Linked DNA regions of Homo sapiens: all the other regions are linked to region 2. Evidence: promoter capture Hi-C in human tissues and cell types (Jung and others, 2019). All regions are on one chromosome and are shown on one strand. The core of a region is centred on a gene start or on the middle of the fragment in contact, and the rest is flanking DNA. Distances in the headings are between cores, read along the strand shown. Region 1 holds the start of SPNS1 (SPNS lysolipid transporter 1, lysophospholipid). Region 2 holds the start of PPP4C (protein phosphatase 4 catalytic subunit). Region 3 holds the start of ATXN2L (ataxin 2 like). Region 4 holds the start of CLN3 (CLN3 lysosomal/endosomal transmembrane protein, battenin). Region 5 holds the start of RABEP2 (rabaptin, RAB GTPase binding effector protein 2). Region 6 holds the start of TUFM (Tu translation elongation factor, mitochondrial).

The links. The method cuts DNA at HindIII sites, captures the fragments that hold promoters and counts their contacts. A contact is called where the count stands out against the background at its distance.
Region 1: the fragment with the promoter of SPNS1 here is called in contact with the fragment with the promoter of PPP4C in region 2 in 3 of the 25 tissues and cell types used here (dorsolateral prefrontal cortex, small bowel and spleen).
Region 3: a contact is called between the fragment with the promoter of ATXN2L here and the fragment with the promoter of PPP4C in region 2, in 1 of the 25 tissues and cell types used here (spleen).
Region 4: the fragment with the promoter of CLN3 here is called in contact with the fragment with the promoter of PPP4C in region 2 in 1 of the 25 tissues and cell types used here (spleen).
Region 5: the fragment with the promoter of RABEP2 here is called in contact with the fragment with the promoter of PPP4C in region 2 in 1 of the 25 tissues and cell types used here (lymphoblastoid cells).
Region 6: the fragment with the promoter of TUFM here is called in contact with the fragment with the promoter of PPP4C in region 2 in 1 of the 25 tissues and cell types used here (dorsolateral prefrontal cortex).

The regions. Positions count from the first base shown.
Region 1 is chr16:28,971,863-28,976,718 of GRCh38, reverse strand. It overlaps SPNS1 (SPNS lysolipid transporter 1, lysophospholipid), which reads right to left and starts at 1,941. Exons shown (of 12, transcript NM_032038.3): 1 at 1,327-1,941; 2 at 1,162-1,227. The coding sequence starts at 1,567. RefSeq lists a silencer at 1,585-1,674, a cis regulatory region at 1,711 and enhancers at 1,627-1,796, 1,895-2,004, 2,085-2,204. The HindIII fragment of the contact is 29,978 bases long and covers 1-4,795 here.
Region 2 is chr16:30,072,882-30,077,722 of GRCh38, reverse strand. PPP4C (protein phosphatase 4 catalytic subunit) reads right to left here and starts at 1,729. Exons shown (of 9, transcript NM_002720.3): 1 at 1,629-1,729; 2 at 1,248-1,408. The coding sequence starts at 1,345. RefSeq lists enhancers at 1,116-1,205, 2,828-3,007 and a silencer at 1,316-1,455. The HindIII fragment of the contact is 17,066 bases long and covers 267-4,841 here.
Region 3 is chr16:28,820,356-28,825,244 of GRCh38, reverse strand. ATXN2L (ataxin 2 like) reads right to left here and starts at 2,246. Exons shown (of 22, transcript NM_007245.4): 1 at 1,687-2,246. The coding sequence starts at 1,985. It overlaps LOC124903672 (a long non-coding RNA gene), which reads left to right and starts at 1,203. Exons shown (of 2, transcript XR_007065042.1): 1 at 1,203-1,351. RefSeq lists a silencer at 1,040-2,189 and enhancers at 2,510-2,719, 2,231-2,967. The HindIII fragment of the contact is 10,837 bases long and covers 1-4,889 here.
Region 4 is chr16:28,490,425-28,495,099 of GRCh38, reverse strand. CLN3 (CLN3 lysosomal/endosomal transmembrane protein, battenin) reads left to right here and starts at 3,026. Exons shown (of 16, transcript NM_001042432.2): 1 at 3,026-3,080; 2 at 3,265-3,386; 3 at 3,540-3,618. The coding sequence starts at 3,341. It overlaps APOBR (apolipoprotein B receptor), which reads right to left and starts at 457. Exons shown (of 4, transcript NM_018690.4): 1 at 362-457; 2 at 1. The coding sequence starts at 418. RefSeq lists enhancers at 2,816-3,015, 2,355-3,144. The HindIII fragment of the contact is 23,586 bases long and covers 1-4,675 here.
Region 5 is chr16:28,922,309-28,926,823 of GRCh38, reverse strand. It overlaps RABEP2 (rabaptin, RAB GTPase binding effector protein 2), which reads left to right and starts at 1,586. Exons shown (of 13, transcript NM_024816.3): 1 at 1,586-1,721; 2 at 2,209-2,421. The coding sequence starts at 1,661. RefSeq lists enhancers at 543-1,126, 2,105-2,334, 2,365-2,454 and silencers at 1,345-1,694, 1,725-1,944. The HindIII fragment of the contact is 23,237 bases long and covers 1-3,872 here.
Region 6 is chr16:28,845,094-28,849,927 of GRCh38, reverse strand. TUFM (Tu translation elongation factor, mitochondrial) reads left to right here and starts at 3,580. Exons shown (of 10, transcript NM_003321.5): 1 at 3,580-3,710; 2 at 3,822-4,016; 3 at 4,448-4,614. The coding sequence starts at 3,659. It also overlaps a transcript of SH2B1 not described here. RefSeq lists an enhancer at 3,229-3,718. The HindIII fragment of the contact is 27,203 bases long and covers 1-4,834 here.

The DNA of each region.
Region 1 (4,856 bases), core at 692-3,191, 1.1 Mb after region 2:
CCTCCAGTTCCTCATTGGCCTGGAGTAGAGAAAAGAACACTGCAAGACCTGGTTTCAAATTCCTGTTCCGCCTCCAACTGGTGGTGTGACCCTGGGCAAGTCTTAACTCTTCTCCAAGCCTCAGTTTCTTTATAAGCTGTAGATATCACTACCTACTTCCTCTATAAAATAGGAACAGTAACACCTATTTTTGACTGATAGAAGGATTAGAAGACAAGGGGCATAAAAGTTCTTCGCAAAGTCCTACAGGTGTAATCATCACTTCCTCCAGGCCTGGCACACAATGAGTACTCAGAAATGGTTGAGAAATGAATGAAGGATGGAAGGAAGAAAAAGGGCTTGGCTCTAGCTTTGCCTCTCCCACAAGTCCCAAAGTTGTGAACAAGTAAAACACACCTCTCCCCATTCCAGACACCCTCTCCTGCCTTTACTTATTTATTTATTTATGAGATGGAGTCTCGCTCTGTCACCCAGGCTGGAGTGCAGTGGTGCGATCTCGGCTCACTGCAACCTCTGCCTCCCGGGTTCAAGTAACTCTCATGCCTCAGCCTCCCAAGTACCTGGGATTACAGGCGCTCGCTACCATGCCTGGCTAATTTTTGTATTTTTAGTACAGATGGGGTTTCGTCATGTTGACCAGGCTGGTCTTGAACTCCTAACTTCAAGTGATCCACTCATCTTGGCCTCCCAAAGTGCTGGGACTACAGGCGTGAGTCACCACACCCAACCCTCCTGCCATTATTTACTGGGTGTCTACCATGTGCCAAACACTGCACTAGGCCCTTCACAGACAATCTTTTAGTTAATCTTCACATCAGTCCTAAGAGATGATTCGTGTTATTACTTGTTCCATCTTATAGACAAGGAAAATGAGGCTTAGAGAGGTTGAGTGCCTTGCCTACCATCACACAATAAGTGGAAGAGCTGAGATTTAAACCCAGGTCTGTCTTCACCTGGGTGAAGTTATACTTAGTTATACTAAACTGACTCCCTCTTTAAATGTGGTGTCCCGCTGACCCCCGAGCAACATCAGGGCCATCACCTCCCCTAACTGGCCACAAAACCTCCATTAATGAGCCCCTAGACAGGCCAGCGCGTGGCCCCACTTGAGACAGAACAGAAGGAGGAGCGGCTGTGTGACCAGGAGTGGTCCCCACTCACCGGTCTGGATGAGCCCAGAGCTACTGTCCCCGATGTTGAAGAACTGCTCGATGTCGGGAAGGACGCCTGAGGAGAAAATTCAGGATGGTCCGGCAAAGCAGCGCCACCCTCGGGACCCTGGCTCCCCTCTCCTAGACTATCTTCCTCCCAGAAGTGAGTCCCTACCAGCCACGGTGAAGCGGTCCATGTAGTTCAGGAGATTGATGTAGCACAGCACCGCCACTATGAGAGCCGAACGGCCGGGAGACAGGCCGGTGATGCGCTGCAGCCCCTCCTGGTCCGGGACCTCGGGCTCCTCGGACTTCGGGTTCCCCGTGGACCCTGGCAACCCCGGGGTGCCAGGCACTGGCCCGTCGTCCGGGTCATCCGCCTGGCTGAGGAAGGGCGCGGTGTCGGACCCGGCCATGGTCCCGGGGGGCCGCGCCCGCCCGCGCTCCGGTCCCACCGACGATCCCACCTGCGAGGGGAGGAGGCTGGAGAAAGGAGGATGGACCGAACACAGGCGAGGGAAGTGCGCCCGGAGACGGGGAGCTTGCCCTGAAGCACAGAGCACCACTGAGAAGGGACCCGGGCCCTGTCACGCCTCCCCGTCTCAGTAGACACACAGCGCGGAGGGGACGTGCGGAATACACGTGATGTCGGGGACAGGAGCGGGCTGAAGAGGGCACGATCCCACGCGGAGGCCACCCCTCACCCGGGGTAGGAGCCCGCTGCACTTGCTGTCGCTCAGCCCGGGCGCTGCACCACGGCAGCCGCCATGTTGCTTAAAGCCGGTCATGTGACGCGGGAGCCAGGGTGGAAGGGGTCCCCGCGGGCAAGCCTTCGACACGTGACCTGCCACCCGACTACGGAAGCCTCTTGGGCGTTCCGCCCGGGCTCACATGTCATGTGACGGCCGGCCGGTCGCCGGAGTAACCAGGAACTTTCCCAGACCCTGCGGTCCCTGGAGCGTCAAAAAGAGCGTCCCCGTGACTAGGTGGAGTCGCCTGCCCTTCCGAATCTCAGCTGTCTTATCTGGAACCCCCACGTGGCAGACTCCATCTTCATCAAACGGGATAATGGGGTCTCAAAAGGTTTTGGAAGTAGTAGATACCTCTAAAAGCCAAGGAGCAGCCCTAGTTCTCGGGAACCATCCTGTCTTCCTCCCAGGGTCTGGTTGGCGGCTTTTTACTCTCAATAAAGGATGGATGGATGGATGGATAAATGGATGGATGGAGCTTGAGCAGCGCGATGGATGGAGGATTGGAGGGACGGAGGGATGGACGGACGGACGGATGGAGCTTGAGCAACGCCCCGCCCTTTGTTGAGATTCCCCAACCCTGCTAGCCTTGTAAACTCCTGAGCCTTCACCGTGGACACTTAAATACCTATTAAAGGAAGCGTCTCCACCCGCCGCTCCTGGAGCATATTTTTCCTCACTCCAATCGGGATTGGAGCCCTTGCGCCCTCCGGTGGGCTTTTGTAGGGCAGGCAGGAGCTCCTAGCCTAAGGAGACTCCCAGCTGCAGGACTAGGGTCAAAGGGATAACTTGGGAGTGGTTCTTTAGTGGCACCCTATAATCTCCAAGCTACATCTAATAAAGCACTCTAAGTAAAATTAGTATAGTTCTGTGCAAATACAGCTTCAAGACCCATCTTTCAACCAGCCCTTAAAGGCCCTCTACTGAAATCCTGGAATCTCGTGGGGAGAGCATCCCCCAACCCCAAAACGCCTTGTTAGAAACTATTTCGAGTCCGAATACCCATAATTGGCTTTAACCCCCCCCCCCCCCCCATATTAGGTGCCTCGTGTTTCAGAACCTTAAGCTTGGTTTCCCCTGGCGGACAGGAACTTCAGGTTGCAGGCATTTAATTCCCTCAACAAGATATTATTGAACATGTATGTGCCTGGCATTTTACCAGGTTTCAGGGAAAGGCAGACTTACTCCCTTCCCTCGTGGAGCTTATCTAGAGAGTGATACGCATTGTAAATTGCACCTCTGAAGTGAAAAGGCAAGCCACAGGTTGAATGAAAATATTTACAAAGCATCTATCTGCCAAAGGACTTGTATCCATGTAAAGAACTCTTTTTTTTTTTCTTTCTTTCTTTTTTTGGAGACAGACGCTTGCTCTGTCACCCAGGCTGGAGCTGGAGTGTAGTGGCGGGATCTCGGCTCACTGCAACCTCCACTTCCGGGGTCCAAGCGATTCTTGTGCCTCAGCCTCCCAAGTAGCTGGGATAACAGGCACGTGCCACCACACCCGGCTAATTTTTTGTATTTTTGGTAGAGATGGGCTTTCAGCAGGTTGGCCAGGCTGGTCTTGAACTCCTGACCTCAAGTGATCTGCCCGCCTCAGCCTCCCACCGTGCTGGGATTACAGGGGTGAGCCACCATGCCCAGTGTCATTTTAATTTTTATATTTGTAGAGATGAGTTATCGCTATGTTGTCCAGGCTAGTCTGGAACTCCTGAACTCAAGCAATCCTCCCACCTCATCCTCCCAAAATGCTAGGACTACAGGTGTGAGCCACTGCACCCAGCTCTTTTGTCCATTTTAAAAATTGTGTTTTTGGCCAGGCACAGTGGCTCATGCCTGTAATCCTAGCCCTTTGGGAAGCTGAGGTGGGAGGATCACTTCAGCCCAGGAGTTCAAGATCAGCCTGGGCAACAAAGCAAGACTCATCTCTACAAAAAAACTAAATAAATAAAAATTAAATATACACTTCCCATATGACCCAGCAATTCCACTCCTAGGTAACCACCAATGAGAAATGAAAACGTGTCCAAACAAAAACCTGTATATGAATGTTCATAAATGCATTATTCATAATAGCCCAAAAATGAAAAGAATCCACATGTCCATCAACAGGGGCATAATCTATTCATACAACGGGAATAGCTTAACAAGAAAAAGGAATGAACTGTCAGAGACGTTCGGACCAGAGTGACTCCATCTTGAGTGACGGTTAGGAAAATAAGGCTGGGACTTGCTGGACTGAATTACAGAAAGTAAGGCATTCCTAGACTCGACATGTTTATGGTTAAGGAAACAATAACGTTTACTAGGCCGGGCGCAGTGGCTCACGCCTGTAATCCCAACACTTTGGGAGGGCGAGGCGGGTGGATCACAAGGTCAGGAGTTCAAGACCAGCCTGGCCAAGATGGTGAAAACCCATCTCTACTAAAAACACACACAAAAAATTAGCCAGACGTGGTGGTGGGCGTCTGCAATCCCAGCTACTCGGGAGGTTGAGGCAGAGAACTGCTTGAACCCAGGGGGCAGAGGCTGCAGTGAGCCGAGATTGTGCCACTGCACTCCAGCCTGGGCAACCGTGTGAGACACCGTCTCAAAAAAAAAAAAAAAAAATTAGCCGGGCATGGTAGCACACACCTGTAATCCCAACTACTCAGGAGGCTGAGGCAGAAGAATCACTTGAACCTGGGAGGCAGAGGCTGCAGTGAGTTGAGAGAGCACCACTGCACTCCCACCCGGGCAACAAGAGCAAAACTCCATCTCAAATAATAATAATATAATGTTTACTAAACAGACCCAGACTTGGGAGTGTCCAGATATCCCAATATATGGAGAACAAAGCATTCCTAATTTTGCTTTAAAGATAACAATATTGATTCTTGCTAAATATAGTAATTAAGAAAATTAGCCGGGCGCAGTGGCTTATGCCTGTAATCCCAGCACTTTGGGAGGTCAAGGCAGG
Region 2 (4,841 bases), core at 480-2,979:
GATAGAAGTTTTTTGCCAGTACCGGGCCAGGCCAAATAGTGGCCCTGTAAAGGCCAATGTTTACTGTTCAATAAACGTAGGGTAATTCTGTGGGCTCTTCTGCCACAATTCTCCAGCCTGGTAGAAGCCACAATCACACAGTTCCCCAGAGGAGGCAGGTAATTAAACCCCTGACTGTTCCCCACGCATCTCAGGGCCTCCACTGTTACATTCGTCCTGCTTGGAATGCCCTTCCCTCACTGGCCCTGCCTCCATCAGCTAGCCAAATTATCTTCATCCTTCAAGGCCTACCTCCACTCAAAAGCCCTCCCTGATGGCTTTAGCCCATCTCATTATTGCCCTCTTCCAAAAGAAATAGAATACCTGGTGATTATCAAGCACGTATGCTGTACCAAAACACTGTGCTAACCTCATCTCCAGCACCAACTCACTGAATCTTCACAATCATCTTATTAAGTACTATTAATTCTGCTTTACAAATAAAGACACTTAAGATTACTAACACAGCTAGAAAGCGGCAGAGTTCAGATTCAAACCTAGAGCCATCTCACACTGCAAAACCTAGAGCCTTAACCACTACATCATCCTACTTCCCACAGAACTCTGAACTGGCCTCCCTATCGTGCTTAATTCTACCCTGGCTTACTTGCTACGATTTCTCAGGCTCCCACCCTGAACGTGAATGATCCAACTCCACCTTTTTGCATTATGGCCTGAAAAAGGACAGGACACTAAGAGCTGGCTTCAGACCCCATTCCTTACTTGTGGGTAACTTTGAACATGAAAGTTCCCACCTGTAAAATGAGTACAATACCACCAATCTTTAAGGGTTGTTGTAATTAGAAGACTTTTATAAATCACAGGGTCTTTAACTTTCCTGTCTTAAACTTTTGGTTTTTGGCTGACTCTTTTACCACCTCCTTATTCGAGGCCTCTCCCACAGTTCGGCCCCCCTCCAACAAGCTTCCGTCCCCCGACAGATGGACTTGTTTCCTTGAGTTTCCTAAGTACTTTATGTAACACTCTTACTCCACTGGAAACACATCGTCTAATAAACTTTAAGTGTCTTTATCCACTCTGTCTTCCCCGAGCAGGCTAGCTTTTCCTCGAGGGCAGCGGCTCCATCCTGCTCCTCTCTGGGAAAGCTTCCAGAACGAGGCAAGCCCAAAGTTCTCAGTTGGGTTTGCCCCAGGCCAGAACCCGTGGGCGGCGGCTTGGCCTCCCTTCCCCAGGGCCAACGAGCTCACCTGGCCTTAGCGCACAGGGCCTTGACTTCGCTCTCCTTGATGAGCTCGCAGCGACGCAGCTGCTCGATCTGCCGGTCCAGGTCGCTGATCTCCGCCATGGCCCACCCCCGGCGCGGGTCAGAGTCGGGGCCGCCGCCCCCTCCGCACCGCACAGGGGTCTCCTGGGAAAGGCCAAGACGAGCCCGCGGATCAGTGTCCGTCCGGGGCTCGGAGCGGACAACTCGATTCTAGAGCCGGCCCGGCTCCCCCACCCCCGCCTCCCCTCACATCGGCCCCAGGACCCCCCGGCGTCCAACGGCCTGGCCGCACCCCCGCTAACTCCCGTCGAACCCCGCGGTCCCGCGCTAAGGACGGTGACTTAGAGGAGTCTCGCACTATTACCGCCGCTGCGACTCCGGTTCCGGCTCTCCGGCTCCCTGCCTCCCTCTTTCACTCCGCTTTCGACCGCCGCCGCCGCCGCCGCCGCCGCTCCTACTTCCGGCCCCGCCGCGGAAGCAAAGGAGGCCAGTTCCGCCGCGCGCCGGATGTGGCGTCATACACGCTCCTCTCCTTTCGCAGCGACCCCTGCACCACTTCTCCAGCCTGAGATCGGGAAGGAGGTGGAGGAACCCGGTGGCGGCCAGTGGCAGTTTTGTGGGCTCTGCCGCTGGGCGATGTGGAGGCTATTAGAAACCCTAGACCAGTCCCCTCCCATATCATTTCATAAAAATGTTTAAACAACTGTCTTTTCTTTTTTTGAGACGGAGTTTTGCTGTTGCCCAGGCCGGGGTGCAATGGCACGAACTCGGCTCACCGCAACTTCCGCCTCCCGGGTTCCAGCAATTCTCCTGCCTCAGCCTCCTGAGTAGCTGGGATTACAGGCATGCGCTACCACGCTGGGCTAATTTTGTATTTTTAATAGAGACGGGGTTTCTCCATGTTGGTCAGGCTGGTCTCTAACTCCCTACCTCAGGTGATCCGCGCCCCCACCCACCACCACCCTTCGGCCTCCCAAAGTGCTGGGATTACAGGCGTGAGCCACCGCGCCCGGCCACAACTTTCTTTTTTCTAAATTAGAGACAGGGTCTCGCTCTATCGCTCAGGCTGGAGTCGGTGGGGCTATCATAGGTCACTGTGACCTCGAACTCCTGGGCACAAGCTATCTTCCCGCCTCGGGCCTCCCAAAGTGCTGGGATTACAGGCGTGAGCCACCGCGCCCGGCCATCCCCCATTTCAGCTAGGGAAACAAGCCGAGCTGGGGCTAGGCTTTGTAACTTTATTACACTTTTTTTTTTTAACATTACACTTTTTTTTTAATGTTACACATTTTTGTTACTTGTTTTGTCAGCCTTCCCCACCACAGTCCTTGGAGGATCCAACTTTGTCTTTTTAAATATTGCAGCCCCAGTGGTTAGAATAAGGCCTGGCACGGTAGGCATATATAGATACTTGTTAATACTTGTTCAATGGATGAGGGAAGCCAAGTTCAGATCTCTTCCTGTGCCGTCAGAGAAATATTTGCCGTGGACAACTTCAGAAGTTAACAGATTGGAGTCCACTTTTCCCACGCCAAGCCTGTGCCTCAGTCAGCATGACTTCTCTGATTCCAAAATGGCACTCTTGACATTTCTTAGTTGCTTCCGTTTTTCTTTTTGAGACAGAGTCTCACTCTCTCGCTCTGTCGCCCAGGCTGCAGTCCAGTGGCGCCATCTCGGCTCACTGCAAGCTCCGCCTCCCGGGTTCACGCCATTCTCTTGCCTCTGCCTCCTGAATAGCTGGGACTACAGGCGCCCGCCACCAGGCCCGGCTAATTTTTTTGTATTTTTTAGTGGAGACGGGGTTTCACCGTGTTAGCCAGGATGGTCTCGATCTCCTGACCTCATGATCCACCTGCCTCAGCCTCCCAAAGTGCTGTACCACAGGCGTGTACCACCGTGCCCGGCCTCTTTTTTTTTTTTTTTTTTTTTTTTTGAGACGGAGTCTTGCTTTTTCACCCCGACTGGAGTGCAGTGGCACAATCTCGGCTCACTGCAACCTCCGCCTCCCAGGTTCAAGCGATTCTCCTGCCTCAGCCTCCCAAGTAGCTGGGATTACAGGCATGTGCCACGACGCCTGGCTAATTTTTGTATTTTCATTTATTTATTTTTTTAAGACAGAGCCTTCCTTGCTCTTGTCGCCCAGGCGGGAGTGCAGTGGAGCGATTTTGGCAAACCGCAACCTCCGCCTCCTGGGTTCAAGCAATTCTCCTGCCTCAGCCACCTGAGTAGCTGGGATTACAAGCACCCGTCACCACGCCCAGCTAATTTTTGCATTTTTAATAGAGACGGGGTTTCACCATTTTGGTCAGGCTGGTCTCGAACTCCTGACCTCAGGTGATCCACTCTCCTCGGCCTCGGAAAGTGCTGGGATTACCAGCTTGAGCCACCGTGCCTGGCTTCTTAGTTGCTTTCTATTAAGTTTTGTGCCTTTTTTAAGAGGAGGAAACTGGCTCAGAGGGGTTAAATAACTTGTTCATTGCTTGTATAACAGTGGATTGGGGATGTTACACTGAAATTTGAATCCGGGGCTAGGTGTGGTGGCTCAAGCATGTAATCCCAGCACTTTGGGAGGCCGAGGCGAATCACTTAAGCCCAGGAGTTCAAGACCAGGCTGGGCAACAGAGTGAGACCCAGTCTATAAACAAAAAGAATAAGAAACTTGGGCTGGGCGCGGTGGCTGACGCCTGTAATCCCAGCACTTTGGGAGGCTGAGGCGGGCGGATCACGAGATCAGGAGATCGAGACCATCCTGGCTAACATAGTGAAACCCCGTCTCTACTAAAAATACAAAAAAATAGCTGGGCGTGGTGGCGGGCGCCTGTAGTCCCAGCTACTTGGGAGGCTGAGGCAGGAGAATGGCGTGAACCCAGGAGGCAGAGCGTGCAGCGAGCCAAGATTGCGTCACTGGACTCCAGCCTGGGCAACAGAGCGAGACTCTGTCTCAAAAAAAAAAAAGAAAGAAATTTGAACCTGGCTGTGTGTGGTGGCTCACACCTGTAATCCCAGCACTTTGGGCAGCCGAGGCAGGTGGATCACCTGAGGTCAGGAATTCAAGATCAGCCTGACCAACATGGTGAAACCCTGTCTATCCTAAAAAATAAAAAATAATAATAATTAGGTTTGGTGATGCGCTTGTAGTCCCAGCTACCTGGGAGGCTGAGGCAGGAGAATCGCTTGAACCCAGGAGGCGGGGGTTGCAGTGAGCCGAAATTGTGACACCGCACTCCAGCTTGGACAACAGAGTGAAATGCTGTCTCAAAAAAAAAGAAATTTGAACTCAGAAAGTTGTGTCCTCAGGTGTAGTTTTTTTTTCTATCAATTACTCTTTCGGGAACTCAGATTATCATAAAATTAAGAGGTCCAGGCCAGGCATGGTGGCTCACGCCTGTAATCTTAGCACTTTGGGAGGCCAAGGCAGGCGGATTACCTGAGATTGGGGGTTCAAGACCAGCCTGGCCAACATGGTGAAACCCCGTCTCTACTAAAAATACAAAAAATTAGCCGGGTGCAGTAGCGTGCACCTGTAATCCCAGCTACTCTGGAGAGGCTGAGGCAGGATAATCGGTTTGAACCCGGG
Region 3 (4,889 bases), core at 997-3,496, 1.3 Mb after region 2:
TAATCAGTAAGATTTTTCTATTTTTTTTGAGACAGGGTCTCCCTCTGTTGCCCAGGCTGGGGTGCAGTGGCGTGATCTCAGTTCACTGTAGCCTCAACCTCCAAGGCTCAAGTGATCTTCCTGCCTCAGCCTCCCGAGTGGCTGAGACTATAGGTACGAACCACCACTCCTGGCTTTTTTTTTTTTTAATTTTTAGTAGAGATGGGATTTCCCATCTGTGTTGCCCAGGCTGGTATCGATCTCCTTGGGCTCAAGGGATCCTCCCACCTTTGCCTCCTAAAGTGCTGGCATTACAGGCGTGAGCCACTGCGCCCGGCCAATAAATAAGATTTTCAAACTGTCACCTTGTAGAGGAAGAAAAAAATAGACATTAATAAGCCAGCAAACACATTTCCTCCAAATGCCAGCAAAAAGATCTCAATCAACAATGGTTGTCAATTGCTCTAAGAACCAACGAGAAAGGGGCTAGGGCTGCAGGCTACCAACAGATCAATGCTACAGTATTAACCAAAAAGCCACGCCAGCTGTGAGGGCAAAAGCTCCAGGAGTGCAGCTTTGGAACTACCTAGCTCAGGTACATTACCTCCCAAACAGAAAAGACAATCATTTTCAGCAGCCTGACGCCTCAAAACTGTGGGAGGAGGGGTATCCCCTCCACACCCCATCCCCTCGACCTCATGACTCATTCAGCCCGTTACCCACTCTGCGGGGATCACCAATCGCCAGGTAACCCTGCTCGTCGCTGGCTGATGTAACCGGCGGTTGAGGGCGAAGAGGGGGCCGCTGGCGGGGCTGGGGGACAGCGCAGCCGCAAAAGCCATCCACCGGGAGGCCTCGCCCGGTCTGCGCCTGCGCACTAAAACCCACGGGACTTTCCGAACCCCCACCTCCAGCGATCAGAGCCCACTGCGCCTGCGTGTGCTGCCACTCTTAATTCCATTAACACACACACACTCGCACAGGAAAAACTGAGCAGGGCCTCCACTACTCATGCACTGCCACCAGACGAGCCCCTCCACGAACTAGTCCCTGCCCTAGGTGTTCCCGGGGCGCGCGAATGCCCGGGTCATGAGACCGAGCATCCACGCGCACGTACGGGAAGGGGGCGCGCGCGCCAGAGGCTCCCGGCCCGCAGTCCTCCCAGTCATCCCTCCTTCCGTCCCCCCGCCCACCTCGCTCCCCTCCTACTGGCCAGACCGGGAAGGGGGAGGCAGCAACCCGCTCCCAAGTCCCTCCCTCCCCATTGGCCAAACTGTGGGCCGCGCGCCCCCCTCCATTGGCTACGGCCGGGGACCCCTTCCCGCAGCAGACTCCCCATTGGCTGAAGCCGGGGACCGCGAGACCCTTCGTGGTAATGGAACCGGGGACCCCGATCAGCTCCTTGCCCCCCCCCAACTCCCCGTTCCGACGGCGCCGGCGGGATGCGCCCCGCCTCCCCTGAAGGCCGGGGCTGCGAGCCCTGACTAGGCCCCGAGAGCCGAGCGCGGCCCCTCAGTGCTCCGGTGGCCGCCCGGGGACCCTTTCCGTCCGACCTGTTCGGACCTGAGGGGGCCCTCCCCCAGCTTCACGGGGACTCCCCACCCAGCCGGTGCCCCTGACGGTGCCGGGTCGGGGTCCGCCCCACCGGAACCGAGCCACAGCCTCTGGGTGGCCGCGGCTCCCTCGCCCGGAGCCCACCCTTCTCACCTGGCGCTGCCGATGGCGGCTGCCCCCGGCCTCTCCTGGTGTTGCTGCGGCGGCGGCGGCTGCGGCGCCAAGATGCCTTCGGCTCCCCGGCGGAGCCCGCTCCCGGCAGCGGCCACAGGCCCCAGGCAGGGGGAGGCGGCCGCTGGAGGCCCGGGAGGAGCCGCAGAGGTGGCCAGCGGCCCCGGGAGGCCGCCGTTGGGAGGGCTGGTGCCCCCGGGGGGCCGACGGGCCACGGCCTGTTGCGTGGGGGGCGGCTGCTGGGGCTGGGAGGGCTGTTGTAGCGGCTGAGGCTTCAACATGATGGCAGCGTCCGGAAGGGGAATTAGAGAGAAGGGAGGGAGAGAGGGGGCCGGGGCTGGGGCCCCGCTGGAGAGCGCGGGAAGCGAGGGGGATCGGGCAGCCGGGGCCCGCCGTGGGCGGGCGGGGGGAGCCCCGCGGTGTCGGGGGTGGAGAGAGAAGACCGCGGCGCGAGGAAGCGCCGCGAGGCGGAAGGGGAGGGGGTCTCGCGGCTGGAGGAAAGCGAGAGGGCGCGAGCCGGGCTGGCGCGCGTGCGCGTCGCCGGGGAGCGGAGAGGGAGGAGCGCGCGGGTGGGAGCTCCCGGGGGGGGGGGGGGGGGGGGGGGGCCAGGAGCGAGCAGTGGCGCGAGGTGCCGCGCACACCGGCGCGGTTAGCTCCCGGCGGGAAAGTGGGAGAGAATCAAGTCGGTGAACCTCGCACCCCTAGCCCTGGGAGTGGGTAAGGAGCGGCGCGGGCGCTCACGCGCGCCAAGGATTTAGGGTCTTAAGGTCTCAAACCGCCTTAGAAGCCGGCGGCCGCTGTCGCTTCACAATGAGCGTGTGAGGCGCAGGGGGAGGAGCCGAAGGCGCCAGAGGAAGGGCCGGCCTCTCCGCCCACGCCGTCGCTGCGTCGCGATGCCTCCGCGGGAGTGTGAGGCGGCACGTCGTGCGTGAGGCTCTTCCGCCACTTGGCGGCCCGTGGGCAGAGCCTTAAGTGCCAAGAAAGTCTCCGGGACTGGACCACCCGAGCCACTGCGCTTTTAGGCAGGTGGTAGGTTTCGCAAGGAGCTACCCTCCACCTTGTTTGCTTTAAGTAAAAGACTGATGAGCATTAGTGATTCGTTTGAGCGTGTTGATCTTTGCAGATAAATTTACGCCTCGTCCTAAATTATTTCAGATTTTTGTGATTTTGACCTAAATTGTTCCTCCATGCCCGAGAATGAATCTTTAAACTGTAATAACAAAGACTGAAGGCCAAAGTTCCGAGTTCAAAATCCTCCACCCGACCCTGCAATGAAGGCAGCTTCATTCATTCAAAATGAGTTGGGCATTGGAGTATTCAGTTAGTTGTTTTGGACACAAGGATAATTAAACTGCTTCCTGCTCTGGAGGAGTTCATGCTAGTGGTGAATTCAGAGAATTTGACGAGATCTAGTAGGTGAAGCACAGAGGACTACAAGAGCAAATGGGAGTGACACCTAATCTTAATCCAGTTTTGGGAGACCCAGATAAGGGACAGGAGGGCCGGGCGCAGTGGCTCATACCTGTAATCCTAACATTTTGGGAGTCCGAGGCAGAAGGATCGTTTAAGGCCAGGAGTTTGAGACCAGCCTAGGCAACAAAGTGAGACTTTGTCTCTACAAAAAAAAAAAAATTTAAATTATAAAAAAAAACTGATAAGAGGGCAGGGGGAGATGGGTTTCTAGGCAGGGAAATAGGATATGACAAACTAAGAAAAACTCAGCTTGTCCTAAGCATAAAATTAAAGGGGGGAAGAGGTAGCTAATCTGGGATCAGGTTTTAAAGGCTCCCAAGTCTTGTAAGAGACACGGACATTATCCTCAAAGCAGTGGGGAGCTTATTTAAGAAAGTGAAAAGAGGCTGGGCATGGTCTGTAATCCCAGTACTTTGGGAGGTTTGAGGTCAGGAGTTTGAGATCAGCCTGGCCAACATGGTGAAACCCTGTCTCTACTAAAAATGCAAAAATTAGCTAGGCGTGGTGGTGCATGCCTGTAATCCCAGCTACTCAGGAGGCTGAGGCAGGAGAATCACTTGAACCAAGGAGGCGGAGGTTGCCGTGAGCCCAGATCGCACCACTGCACTCCAGCCTGGGTGACAGAGCAAGACTCCTTCCCCCCAAAACAAACAAAAAAACAAGTGAAAAGAGGTCAGATTTGCATTTTTAAAGGTTTACTCTTTGCAACGTGGAGAATGGAGTGGAGCTGTTAAGTCCATGTGGTCTTAATCCCAGCGAAACTCTCAATGTCTCAATCTCTTCGCTCTAAATGTTAGCATTGGAACTCTTCCCAGCCCCTGCACCAAACACATGCACACCTAGCTACAACACTGCCTTACTTTTTGGGTAATAGTCCTTCGCCCTGCCTCGCTCCTGCCTTCAGATGTGCTAGTTTCCCCTCCTGTGTGCTCGCCGAGCAATTTATCCCACTGTATTCTAACAGCTCCTTTAATTCTGTCTTCCTGCTAATGTCAGCTCCCTAAGGGTTAGGATCTTGACTTATTTCTTGCTCTGCAGTACTCTAGCACACTGCAGGCACTCAATGAAATATCTGTAAGGTGAGTGGATCCAAATGATGTTTTTTTGTTTGTTTTTGAGATGGAGTTTTGTTCTTATTGCCCAGGCTGGAGTGCAATGGCGCGATCTCGGCTCACCACAACCTCCGCCTCCCGGGTTCAAGCGTTTCTCCTGCCTCAGCCTCTTGAGTACCTGGGATTACAGTCATGCACCACCACACCCGGCTAATTTTGTATTTTTAGTGGAGACGGGGTTTCTCCATGTTGGTCAGGCTGATCTTGAACTCCCGACCTCAGGTGATCCACCCGCCTCGACCTCCGAAAGTGCTGGGATTACAGGCATGAGCCACCACGCCCAGCCCAAATGGTGTTTTAAAGGTCATCATGTCTCCTGGGTTCCCTAACAAACACAGTCCAGCTTTTTCCTGGCATTACCTGGACCACCTGATGCCATGCCACCTCTCTACCCTCATTGACAGATTGTGAGCACTGAGCACTCTAACCCCCTTCCATCTACCCCATCCTGCTCCACACTCAAATTCTGAGTTTTAGCCCCATGAAACTTCTTTCTCCATAGCTTGCCTTGCCCTTGCTAGTGGCAGCTAATTTGCATGGGGTCTACAGCAACCTCAATTCTTGCCTCCTCAGAAGAAAGAATTCCACCAAGGGGCATAA
Region 4 (4,675 bases), core at 1,777-4,276, 1.6 Mb after region 2:
CCTAGGAAAAAAGAGAGAGAGAGGGGAGAGTCATTGAGGAGAGTCCCAGCCCTTTCCCTGGGGGCCCTGGCTGGAGGAGCCCAGGTTAAGGAAGAGGGTACTGGGATCTGAAAGGAGAAGAAGAGGATTTGCAGAAGGAGCCAGAAGGGGCATCGATTAGGGGTACGAGGACGCATGGTTGGAGGTGGGGACTGAAATTCAGAAAATATTAGGCCAGGAGTCTGCCTGAACCTGAGAAAGCAATCTCCAGTTTGAGGAGATCAGAAGGAGGAGGGGAAAGGTGAGGCCCCAGGGGAGGTGCCCGGAAGTGAGGCCCCAGGGAATGGGGTGCAAGTATCTGGCAGCTGTCTGCCCTTCTCACCAGTGCCCCCCTCAAGGCCTGGTGCAGCCCAGGGAGGTATAGCCGGAGGAAGTCCATCCTGTCTGTCTCTGTCTGTGTGTCCAGAAAGCTGATAATGACCGTCCCCACCCACCAAGACAAGCCAACCTTCCCCAGGACCAAAGGCACTTCCTCTTCCCCTGTCTCCCTGATGCGTCCCCACCCCAGGCCCTGCCCACGGCCCCTGATGCCCACAGTAGCCCCCACTGCAGCCCGGGAAATGGGTGTACATCACACAGGGGACTCAGGTGCACATTTGGAAATAAAGGACAAGCAAGAGGCCAGAAAGGACAAAGTGGGAGCAGGAGACCTTAGAACTGGGGAGGGGGAGAGGGAGGGGACATGTGGCAACAGCAGCTCAAGTGACTCAGGTCTCGTATCCGCACCTCAGCCATTTCTGCCTCCCCTACAAGCCACAGCCACTCTGCAAGAGGAAGCTGGGGTTTGTGGTTCCTGTTTTGCCTGGGAAGAAAGAGTAGCAGTGAAGAGGGGGCTGGTGGGAGCTCTGACACATTTCGGCGTCATTAATGCTTCCCCCAGGGGCGGAAGGGGCCGGATTGGTGGCTCTGGGGTGCATCCCCTCACCTATGATTAGGCTTGCAAAAAAGAACTTGGCTAAACTTTATATTGTGGATATCTGTGTCTGCCTCCCACCTTCCTGTGACTTCCTTGATGGCAGATGCCATGTATGAAACGCTGCTGAATTTCTAGAGCCCTGCACGTTAGTAGGATTCCATTTTCCATCAGCTGAGTGACCTGGGAGGCACACTAGAGAGGGCACATTTCTTTTCTTTTCTTTTCTTTTTTTTTTTGAGACAGTCTCACTCTGTCACCCAGGCTGGAGTGTAGTGGCGCAGTCTCAGCTCACTGCAACCTCTGCCTCCTGGGTTCAAGTGATTCTCCTGCCTCAGCCTCCCGAGTAGCTGGGATTACAGGTGCGTGCCACCACACCTGGTTAATTTTTGTATCTTTAGTAGAGACAGGGTTTCACCATGTTAGCCAGGCTGGTTTCGAACTCCTGACCTCAGGTGATCTGCCCACCTTGGCCTCCCAAAGTGCTGGGATGACAGGCATGAGCCACCACACCCAGACGAGAGGGCACATTTCCAACTGCATTCTGAAGGCCTGGTGGTGAGAAAGAGCATATAGAGGTGGCACAGCCCATAGCAGAGATGAGGCCAAGGACAAGAAGAGAATGCAGGATGCCGCTTTCCACCTAGAAGAAGGTAAGGGTATGATTCCTTATTTGGAACTACATAAAGTGACCTTGCTCTACTTCTCTTCCCCATACCCTCCTTCTCCCCTCCCCAGCCCCACTTTCCTATTCCAATTAGGGCAATTCTATGAAATCACAGCATCAGAATCTTAGGCCTTAAAATCATTTAGTCTGGCCAGGTGCAGTGGCTCACGCCTGTAGTCCTAGCACTTTGGGAAGCCAAGGCAGGTGGATTGCTTGAGCTCAGGAGTTTGAGGCCACCCTGGGCAACGTGGCAAAATCCAGTCTCTACAAAAAACACAAAAATTAGCTGGGCACAGTGGTGCGCACCTGCTGTCCCAGCTACTCGGGAGGCTGAGGTGGGAGGATCACCTGAGCCTGGGAGGTCAAGGTTGCAGCAAACCAAGATCCTGCCACTGCACTCCAGCCTGGGCAACAGAGCAAAACCCTGTCAAAAAAAAAAAAAAAATCTGGTCTAAGCACCACCTTTGATGGAGGCAGGAATCCTGCAGCAGCCTGGAGCCAACCCAATGGCTCCCTGCCTCTGGTGCTCTATTTCTTATCACCATACAGGTCTCTAAGGTCACCTTTAGGTCTAACATTGTATGAATGATTGTCAGCAACTTTCCAATTTTTTTCATATACATATATTTTTTTTATTTTATTTTTTACTTTTTCTTTTTTTGAGACAGGATCTCACTCTGTCACCCAGGCTGGAGTGCAGTGGCGTGATCATAGCTCACTGTAGCTTCAACCTCCTGGGCACAAGTGATCCTCCCACCTCAGCTTCCAAGGTACCTGTGACTACAGGAATGCGCCACCATGCCCGGCTAATTTTGTTATATATATATATATATATATTTGTACCTTGGTTTTCTCATCTGTAACACCAGGGGTTGAAGTGCTGTGATATTTTTTGGTTCTAGGATAATTTGGAAATAGGGATCTCTTAACATCTTGGATACTGCCAATAGATCATTCACGAAATCCCTTTAGATGAGTGTTATGTTTACTTAGGTCTCTAAAACAATTTGTAAGGTCAACAGATGGGGATAAGAATGACCTGAAGCTGGTCGTCTTTGTTCGCAACCAGAAACAGTCCTGCCTCAAAAAAAAAAAAAAAAAAAAGGGAGTAGGCAGGTGGCCATATTTGTTTCTGGCAAGTGAGTGCTGAAGGAAAGGAGCTGAAGCCTCCCACAGTCATAACTGGTGCTGGCAGGCTACTGTCTCGGTCTTGGGCGCCACTGATCTAAGGTCACGGCTCTGCTTGCTGCTCCCACCCGCTCCAGTTTAAAACCTGCGGTTCCAGGGTTCTCCAGCCCCTCCCTTTTTCACGCTCCGAAGCCGAGAAGGCCCAAAGCGAAGACAGAGAGGACCCGGAAGTAGGGAAAACCTCTGAGCACGTGATGGGGGAACACGCGGGTGCTGTCACGTGATCCGACAAACGGCCTCTGCATAGTGCAGAACATTCTGCTGCTCTTAAAGGTACAGGCCTCAGGGTCCCTGCTGTAGACGGGGCGGGGGAGAGTACGATGGGTGGGGCGTGGTGGGTCGTAGGGCGCTCGAGATGGAGCCCCCAGCTTCCTTGATGGATCGCGGGGCGCGAGTGCCCTAGACAAGCCGGAGCTGGGACCGGCAATCGGGCGTTGATCCTTGTCACCTGTCGCAGACCCTCATCCCTCCCGTGGGAGCCCCCTTTGGACACTCTATGACCCTGGACCCTCGGGGGACCTGAACTTGATGCGATGGGAGGCTGTGCAGGCTCGCGGCGGCGCTTTTCGGATTCCGAGGGTGAGTATTCCCGCCCACCCTCATGGAACGACCACCTCTGGCTCGCAGCCCACCTGAGGGGAATGAGAGCTGACTCGGCCCCGGGAGGACACGCAAGGAGCGGTCGTGCACCTGAGAGTAGGTGGGGGTCATGCCCTCTTCTCGCTCTCCCAGGGGAGGAGACCGTCCCGGAGCCCCGGCTCCCTCTGTTGGACCATCAGGGCGCGCATTGGAAGAACGCGGTGGGCTTCTGGTGAGTGGCCTGAGACTTCAGCGAGTGACAATGGCATGAGAAGAGGGAAGTGACCGGAGGAAAGGGGGAAGAAAGAGTTAAGCTGCGCAAAGGAGCTGAACCCACAAATATTTACTGAATCCACTGGTTTGCCCCAGGGGCAGCATGTAAAATTTCCAAACTTCACTCCTTATCACCTTCCGGATTTAGCAAGATCCTCATACCTACCACCTGTAGGATTATTTACTTTTTTCTTCCAGCCAATTCAGCCTTAACGTTTTTTAGTGCACATATTTTTAAAAAGAAAACTTTAAATCACGACTCCACTTGGAAAACCAGCGTTTTCCTAGTGAACGTTTAAATAAATGCATCACTACTAAAACTTTTTTATTTTTTTAATTTATTTTATTTTATCTTATTTTTTTTTCTTTTTGAGACAGGGTCTTGCTCTGTTTCCCAGGTTGGAATGCAGTAGTGCAATCACAGCTCCCTGCAGCCTGGAACTCCTGGGCTCAAGTGATTCTCCCACCTCAGCCTCCAAGTAGGTGTGGCTACAGGTGTGCACCACCGCATCTGCCTAATTTTTATATTTTTTTATAGAGATGGGGGTCTCACTATGGGACCTGGGCTGGTCTCAAACTCGTGGCCTCAAGTGATCCTCCTACCTCAACCTTCCAAAGTGCTGAGATTACAAGCATGAGCCACCATGCCGGGCCTGAACCTTTTTTTTTTTTTTTTTTTTTGAGACGGAGTCTCTCTCTGTCCTCCAGGCTGGAGTGCAGTGGCGCAATCTCGGCTCACTGCAAACTCCGCCTCCCAGGTTCACACCATTCTTTTGCCTCAGCCTCCGGAGTAGCTGAGACTACAGGCGCCTGCCACCACGCCCGGCTATTTTTTTGTATTTTTAGTAGAGATGGGGTTTCACCGCGTTATCCAGGATGGTCTCGATCTCCTGACCTCGTGATCCGCCCGCCTCGGCCTCCCAAAGTGCTGGGATTACAGGTGTGAGCCACCGCGCCCAGCTTTTTTTTTTTTTTTTTTTAATTTTATTTTATTTTTGAGACAGAGTCTCACTCTA
Region 5 (4,515 bases), core at 337-2,836, 1.2 Mb after region 2:
CTGGGGTACATGTGCACGATGTGCAGGTTTGTTACACAGGGAAACATCTGCCATGGTAGTTTACCGCACCCATTAACCCATCACCTAGGTATCAAGCCCAGGATGCATTAGCTACTCTTGCTGATGCTCTCCCTCCCCCCTCCCAACACCCACCCCACAGGCCCCCATGTGTGTTGGTCCCCTCCCTGTGTCCATGTGTTCTCATTGTTCAGCTCCCACTTATAAGTGAGAACATGCATGTTTAGCTTTCTGTTGCTGCATTAATTTGCTGAGGATAATAGCTTCTAGCTTCATCCATGTCCCTGCAAAGGACATGATCTCGTTCCTTTTTATGGCTGTATAGTATTCCATGGTGTATATGTACCACATTTTCTTTATCCAGTCTATCATTGATGGGCATTTGGGTTGAGTCCATGTCTTTGCTATTTTGAATAGTGCTTCAATGAACATACTCGTGCATGTATCTTTGTAATAGAATGATTTATATTCCTTTAGGTATATACCCAGTAATGGGATTTCTGGGTCAAATGGTATTTCTGGTTCTAGGTCTTTGAGGAATCACCACACTGTCTTCCACAATGGTTGAACTAATTTACATTCCCACCAACAGTGTAAAAGCGTTCTACCTTTGGCCATTTTCAAACTGCATTATCTGTTTTACAAAAATCGCTCCAGCTGCTTTACGGAGAATTAATTAATTAAAGGGTGGAGTCGACACTGCGGAAGTTCAGGAGAAGTGATGGGAGCTGGGACGGAGTGTTAGCGCTGGAGATGGAGAAAAAGGGGCACATTCTGGAATAGTCAGCACATTGGAAGTAGAGTTTACGGGACTTGCAGGAGGACACGTAGAATCAAGGACTTCCAGGTTCCTGGCGTGTCCTTTACAGAGGGAAAAAAGGTTTGAGGGAAGGGGAACCAAGGCTCTGGACATAAATCTGAATTGCCTGTCACCGTCCGGGTGGAGGTCACAGATAAAGAGCCTGATCTAGACACAGGCGGAGAGGAGAGGAGGGATTTGAGGGCGTTGGGAGGAGGAAAGGGGGGCCAGCAGGAAGCGGTGACTGGCTGAGTAACAAAATGGGGGTGGGGACGTGCAAGTTTCAGACTCCGACTAACTACGCGGGGACTCCGAGGCGCTCAGAAAAATGAAGCCGACCCGGCCCTGCCCCGAGGGACGCTCCAAGAGGGCGGAGGTGCAGGGAGGGCCCCGCCACAATTCGCGGTAACGCAAGCCAGGCTCGGGCGGAAGGGCGGCCGGAGCCGATCAAAGGCTGGCTCCGGGCAGGGGCAGCGAGGGAGCGAGGGGGAGCTCTCCGCAGGCCGGTGTCCCGGAGGAGGCATAATTGGAGCAGGGCTTCCAAGGTCACGGAGAGACGCCGGGCAAGACCTCTTAAGGATCCTCTTCCGGGCTTGAAAGGCAGGCGTCCTCCCGAACCGCGCGACCCAGCCAAGAAGAGCCGGGGCGGGGCCGGGGCCGGGGCCGGGGGCCGACTCGGGAATCTTCGGCCGAGGCTCGGCAATCCCCCCATCCTCCGTCCGGGGCCTCCAGCCCGGGGCCGATCCGGAAACAGCCGAGCGGATCCGGAAACAGCCGAGAGGACCCGGAAGCGGTGCGCTCCGTCACCAGGGAGTGCGGGAATCCGCCGTTTGCGCTGAGGCAATGGCGGCAGCTGCGCCGGTGGCCGCGGACGACGATGAGCGGCGGCGGCGGCCGGGGGCTGGTACGTGAGGGGGCGTCCGTGCAAGCGGGGAACGGTGATGCTGGGGGCGGGGCCGAGCCAGCCACCTGCGGATGGGGGGTGGAGAGGGATGATGGAGGAAGGGGCGGGGCCACGCCGTCGGGAAAGGGGGCGGGGCCTACAGCCACAGGCAAAAGGGGGCGTGGCCCGGCCATTGAAGGGGTAGGGCCAGTGACAGGTGCGAAGTGGGGCCCGGTGAGGAAGGGGCGCGGCCACTAGGAGGGCGGGGCCAGGTGGGACCGAAGAGAGGACTGAGTGAAACTGGCCACCGCGAAGAGATGGAGTGTAGGCAGCACCCGGCAGAGCGAGTGGGAAGGGGGCGGGGCAGGGGCGGGGCCAGGTGAGCCGGGCGGGCCCAGGTGAAGGAGGCCCCAGATGAAGGCAACAGTACTAGGTTGCAGGACTTGCTAAGCCGGTAGGTGGCCTGGGGTAAGAGATGGGAAGAGAGGCTGATCCCTGTCCCCCACAGCACTGGAGGACTCCCGGTCCCAGGAAGGGGCAAATGGTGAGGCCGAGTCAGGTGAGCTCAGCCGGCTTCGGGCTGAGCTGGCAGGCGCCCTGGCAGAAATGGAAACCATGAAGGCTGTGGCAGAGGTGAGCGAGAGCACGAAGGCCGAGGCTGTGGCTGCGGTGCAGCGGCAGTGCCAAGAGGAGGTGGCCTCGCTGCAGGCCATCCTGAAAGGTGAGACGCGGGACTCACCTAGACTCCCCATCAACCCCATACTGGGGAGTGCATGACGAGAAAGGGATTGGGGGCACAGATAAGCTATGGGATAGGTTAGCAGGGCTGCCTGGCACAGGGCATGCCTATGGCCCAGAGGAAGGGCCGCCCTTTTAAAATTTGCATAGAGGCCCTCCATGTGATAGCAGCAGCTCTGTCAGTTATAGCTAAGTTTAGCTCCCAGCTTCTATCTGTTGCCTTGTCCCATGTCATTTCTTGTCCCTCACTGATGATTGATCAACCCTGAAGATGGGCGAGAAACTTCTCAGTTCCCCAAACCAACCTCATTTTAGTCTGGACTTCTGGGAAATAGAATCAGCCCTGGCCCAGTCTCTGTGAGTCTAATGCTCTGCTCTCTAGCCTTCCCCAGACACTCCCCCCTCCACCCCACGCCATGCACCAGCTTCCCCACCTCCGCCCCACGTTCTTTGTACTTGGTCCTCTGGCCCCAGACGCCCCAGCTGCTGATCCTGTTTTCTACTCTCCTTCCTCTAGCAGAAGCCAGAGACTCTGAAACAGATGTCAGAGCTGCCCCCGCTGCTATGCCCCTGCTGCGGTGGGGCTCTCGTCAACTCTCTCCTGGACTTTTGTCCCAACCTTCTCACAGATCTTCCTCTATAGTGTGGCCTTGACATTGGCTTCCAGAGTAAACTTCCTAAAATTCCCTTCCCAACATGCGATTTCCCTTTCTAACAGCTGCTGGTGGCTGGAGACTTCTCTGGGGCTGTATTTCCCACATTTCAGGATCCACCTGCCTGTGCAATGTAGACACATCCTTGTACAACTTACTGTGCTGTTTACTTAATATTTGTTCTTTAAATAGATCCACATTTTAAAAGTTTACATACATTTATTAAGGGAAACTTGTTATATCTACTATATAAGAAAAGCCAGGTGTGTCCTAAATAATAACAATAGCTAGCTTTTTTTTTTTTTCTTGAGTCAATAAGAGTTTCACTCTGTCGCCCAAGCTGGAGTGCGTCACAGCACGCTGGTGTGATCTCAGCTCACTGCAACCTCCACCTCCTGGGCTCAAGCAGATCCTCCTACCTCAGCCTCCCAAGTAGCCAAGACTACAGGTGCATGCCACCATGCCTGGCTAATTTTTAGTATTTTTTTGTAGAAACAGGGTCTCTCTATGTTACCCAGACAGGTCTTGAACTCCTGAGCTCAAACGATCTGCCTGCCTTGGCCTCCCAAAGTGCTGGGATTACAGGTGTGAGCCACCGCGCCTGGCCAGGTAGCATGTTTTGAGCACTCACTATGTGCCAGGCACTGAGCTAAATGCTTTATGAGTAACTAATCTTCATAACAAACTCTGTGAGGCAGGAACTATTACCCATCTCCATTTTACAGAGGAAGCTCTGAGGCCCGGAGAGGTTAAATAACTTGCCCAAGGTCATATAGCTGGAAAACAGCCAAAGGTTGGAAACCAAGCAGCCTAACAGCTGAACCTATTTTTTTTTTTTTCTGAGACAGTGTCTCACTGTTACCCAGACTGGAGTTCAGTGGTGCAGTCTCAGCTCACTGCAACCTCCACCTCCCGGGTTCAAGCGATTCTCCTTCCTCAGCCTCCCAAGTAGCTGGGACTACAGGCGTGTGCCACCACACGTGGCTAATTTTTTTTTTCTTTTCTTTTGAGATGGAGTCTTACTCTGTCGCCCAGGCTGGAGTACAGTGGTGTGATCTTGGCTTACTGCAAGCTCCACCTCCCGGGTTCATGCTATTCTCCTGCCTCAGCCTCCCAACCAGCTGGGACTACAGGTGCTCGCCACCACGCCTGACTAATTTTTTTTTTTAATTTTTAGTAGAGACGGGGTTTCACTGTGTTAGCCAGGATGGTCTCGATCTCCTGACCTCGTGATCTGCCTGCCTCGACCTCCCAGAGTGCTGGGATTAGAGGGGTGACCCACCACGCCCGGCCCCATTTTTTGTATTTTTAGTAGAGATGGGGTTTCACCGTGTTAGCCAGGATAGTCTCGATCTCCTGACCTTGTGATCCGCCCACCTCGGCCTCCCAAAGTGCTGGAATTAGAGGCGTGAGCCAGCACGCCC
Region 6 (4,834 bases), core at 2,331-4,830, 1.2 Mb after region 2:
TTTTTGAGACAGAGTCTCGCTCTGTCACCCAGGCTGGAGTACAATGGCGTGATATCGGCTCACTGCAACCTCCGCCTCCTGGGTTCAAGCGATTCTCCTGCTTCAGCCTCCTGAGTAGCTGAGACTACAGGCGTGCACCATGCCCAGGTAATTTTGTATTTTTAGTAAAGACGGGATTTCACCATGTTGGCCAGGCTGGTCTCGAACTCCTGGCCTCAAGTGATCCGCCTGCCTCGACCTCCCAAAGTGCTGGGATTATAGGTGTGAGCCATTGTGCCCAGTGCATCCATAATATTATCTACCAAACAATATTCTTTTAAGTTGATCTGTTTTTTTAAAAACTTGATTATTATGCCAGTTTTTTTTCAAGCTAATACACATTAAAATAAATATAGCACCACAAAAATATAAACCATTAATTCAAATACCACCCCCAAAAACTCATAACTTGCTAGTGGCCAATAGTGTCTTAGGATAAATTCCTAGGAGTACAGTGACTTAGGTACAGAGTAGAAACAGAAAACCCTTTTAGGCTGGGCACAGTGGCTCATGCCTGTAATCCCAGCATTTTGAGAGGCCAAGGTGGGCAGACGGCTTGGGCCCCGGTATTGGGAGACCAGCCTGGCCAACATGGCGAAACCCCATCTCTACAAAAAATACAAAAATTAGCCAGGTGTGGTGGTGTATGCTTGTAATCCCAGCTATTTGGGAGGCTGAGGTAGATTGAGCTTGGGAGGCTGAAGCTGCAGTGAGCTGTGACTGCCCTACTATGCTCCAGCCTAGGAGACCCAGCAAGGCTCTGTCAAAAAAACAAAAACAAAATCTGTTTATACTACACATGATACCAGCCTTTCCTAAGCAGAACTGATTAACTGGAGGGCCAGGAAGAGAGAAGTCTTAGCAAGTTCCTCACTTTATCTGAGCAGTAAAATGAGAGTTAAATTATAGTACAGTCTGGCTGGGCATGGTGGCTCACACCTATAATCCCAGCATTTTGGGAGGCCAAGGTGGGTGGATCACTTGAGGTCAGGAGTTCAAGACCAGCCTGGCCAATATGGTGAAACCCCGTCTCTATTAAAAATACAAAAATTAGCTGGGCGTGGTGGCAGGCGCCTGTAATCCCAGCTACTCGGGAGGCTGAGGCAGGAGAATCGCTTGAACCTGGGAGATGGAGGTTGCAGTGAGCCGAGATCGTGTCACTGCACTCCAGCTGGGCAACAGAGTGTGACTCTGTCTCAAAAAAAAAAAAAAAAAAAAAAGGACAGTGCGGTGTGCACACTTTTTGGGGTTTAGTGGTGGTGGATTCCTTAATCACCCTGACCGTCAGTTTTCACACCTGCAAAATGGAGGAAATAATAGTTCCTACTACCCAGGGTAGCACTGGGAGCGCTGATTGTGAAACAATAGGAATGCCTGAACATCATAAAGCTCTAGTTCAGAGTTTCCTAAACTCCTCTGAGTTTTCATTTGAAAAAAAATTTTTTTTTTTGGAGACGGAGTCTCGCTGTGTCGCCCAGGGTGGAGTGCAGTGGCACCATCTCAGCTCACTGCAAGCTCCGCCTCCCGGGTGCAAACAATTATCCTGCCTCAGCCTCCTGAGTAGCTGGTACTACAGGTGCACACTGCCACGCCCAGCTAATTTTTTGTATTTTAGTAGAGACAGAGTTTCACCGTGTTGCCCAGGCTGTTCTCGAACTCCTGAACTCAAGCAATCCACCCGCCCGGCCTCCCAAAGTGCTAGGATTACAGGTGTGAGCCACCACGCCTGGCCAAAATATTTTTATAGAGATGGGGTCTTTCTTGGCTGAGCGTGGTAGCTCACGCCTGTAGTCCCAGCACTTTGGGAGGCCACAATGGGCGGATCACTTGAGGTCTGGAGTTCGAGAGCCGTCTGGCCAACGAGGTGAAACCCCATCTGTACTAAAAATACTAAAATTAGCCAGGCGTGGTGGCACATGCCTGTAGTCCCAGCTACTCAGGAGGCTGAGGTGGGAGAATTGCTTCAACCCAGGAGGTGGAGGTTGCAGTGAGCCGAGATCGCCCCATTGCACTCCAGCCTGGGCGACAGAGTGAGACTCTGTCTCCAAAAAAAAAAAAAAAAAAAAAAAAAAGATGGGGTCTTTCTCTGTCACTCACGGTGGGGTGCAGTGTCATGATCATACCTCACCACAGCCTTGAACTCCTGAGCTCAGGCGATCCTCCTGCCTCGGCCTCCTGAGTAGGAGGGGCTATAGCTGCATGCTACTGTGCCTGGCTAATTTTAAATTTTTTTTTGTAGAGATAGGGTCTCCTAATCTGCCCAGGCTGGTCTTGAACTCCTGGCTTCAAACCGTCCTCCCACCTCAGCCTCCCAAACTGCTGGGACTATAGGCTGGCACTATAGCCACCGTGCCCAGCCTCTTCTCAGTTTTAGAAGAGTGTTTGTTATATAGCTTCCCAGTCTGTGCATAGACCCCACGGAATCATAACCTCCAGGGGAGGAATTAGGGAATCTATTTGAAACAAACACTGTCCACTGAGTCTCAGGATCTGATGAGTTCCGAAACATTAGCCAGGGTTAAGCAGCCATAATTAACACTTTGGAGTGCCCTGTGGAAGCTGCCATGAGATGATGGATGTGAAAGTTAAGGGACATTGACTACCCTTGCACCCATTCATTCAACATTCACTGCATGCTCCACCCTGTTAGGTGCTGGGGACACCGACAGATTAAAGGAGACTCAGGCTCCCCTTAAAGGCTCCCCTAGCTGGCTCCTCATCCTTGGCTCCTCATCTGCAAAATTAGATGGGTGGGGCGATGCCCAACGGAACTGCTCCTTAGGCTGCTGAGGGACTACAGGGGTGGGCAGCGAAGCTGTCTGTCTTGTGGGCTCTGGCCCTGTGAGGTCTAGCAGTACAGGGTCCCCGCAAGCTGCCTGACCTCACAGGGCCCAACACTGACTCCTACCCAGTTCATCTCCTCTCAGGGCTAGATGTCAGGCTCTCCCTATGAAGTGGATACTACTATTCCCATTTTACAGATTAGAAAACAAAGTCTCAGCGAAGAGGGAGGTCACACTTCACCCCATCCCCGAAAGGCGTCCAGGACCTGGTCCCCTACCTCCAGCTGCGGCAGAGGCGGCCAGATATCTCGCAAGACCCGCGTAGCGAGTCGGACTCCGGGGGACTCGGGGTCTCTCTCTGCCGGGCCCAGGAGGAGGTTCCTGAGCAGTCGGAGCCGCAGCTGCCTCCCGGAGCCCGAGCCCCTCCCTCCGGGTCCGGCCTAGCCCGCCTGACTCCCACTCTGATCACCTCCACAGCCCGCCGACCTGAGAACTACTACGCCCATGAGCCTTCGCGGCGCCGGTGATTTAGGGGACGCTCCTCAGTGCCCCCTGCGACCGCCAGAGAGAACTACGTTGCCCCTCAGCCCGAGAGGCGCGAGTGGTGGAAAACCTCTCCATCATACTCCGCCCTCGAGACACCAGCCCCCTCCATGACGTCTTCAGCCGCGCGCCCGACGTCGGCTGAGACGGCCATAGACACTGGCGGCTAGAGGGGCCCGGACTTGCCCTCCCAGCTCTAACTTCCGCCGGAAGTGCCTTCCAGCCGCAGGCGCCCTTCTTCTTCTGTGCGCTCGGGCTCCTGGTCCCGGCTCCCCGGTTACCGGGGCGCGAGTATGACCACAATGGCGGCCGCCACCCTGCTGCGCGCGACGCCCCACTTCAGCGGTGAGTGGTCAGGGAGGGCGATGGCGGCCCAGGAACACTTTGGGGGAGTGGTAGGTGGCTGGGTTCGGTCTGACCCCTTCCCTGCCTGACTCCAAGCTTCGGTCCCGGCAGGTCTCGCCGCCGGCCGGACCTTCCTGCTGCAGGGTCTGTTGCGGCTGCTGAAAGCCCCGGCATTGCCTCTCTTGTGCCGCGGCCTGGCCGTGGAGGCCAAGAAGACTTACGTGCGCGACAAGCCACATGTGAATGTGGGTACCATCGGCCATGTGGACCACGGGAAGACCACGCTGACTGCAGCCATCACGAAGAGTGAGTGGGGTTGGGGCGTCCAGCAGCGCCCTATCTACTGATGGGACCTGGAGCCAGGGAGGCAAGGCCAGCAGAGTGTCTGCTGGAGGAGTTTACTGTGGCCCCAAGAGCCCGAATTTGTGCGACAGGTGGATTGGGAGATGCAAGAGACAAATTTCTCCTGAACAGGAAGAACTTTGTGATCCACCAATGGCTTGGGGATCACAAAGTCGTGGGGAATGCTCTGCAAGCAGAGGCTGTACCCTAAAGAAGTCACAGGGCAGACCCTTAAGGCCCTCTAACATTTCTTTCTGACCCACAGTTCTCTCTGCTGGAAGAGTTAGAGATTGGAGGAGGTTATGTATTTAGGTGGGAGGGTTCAGGGGCGTGGTCTAAGCTCTGCCTCTAGCACTGGAACTTTAGCTGAGAGGTGTGTTCTTTTCCTCCTTTAGTTCTAGCTGAGGGAGGTGGGGCTAAGTTCAAGAAGTACGAGGAGATTGACAATGCCCCGGAGGAGCGAGCTCGGGGTATCACCATCAATGCGGCTCATGTGGAGTATAGCACTGCCGCCCGCCACTACGCCCACACAGACTGCCCGGGTCATGCAGATTATGTTAAGGTGAGGGTTGCTGGGACACTGGAGACAGGGCCAGAAGCTGCCTCTTGTCAGGATAAATGTTAGGCTTGTGGGGAGGAGATTAAGATATTCAGTGTTTGGGTATGAGATGGCAGGTTTGTGGTCTTGGCCACGCAGAATGGGTGGTGAGGAGATGGTAGAGAAAGGTGGGCCTGAGTTTCTAACTGCTACACTTGGCTATATGGATGTGAACTGAAGAGCT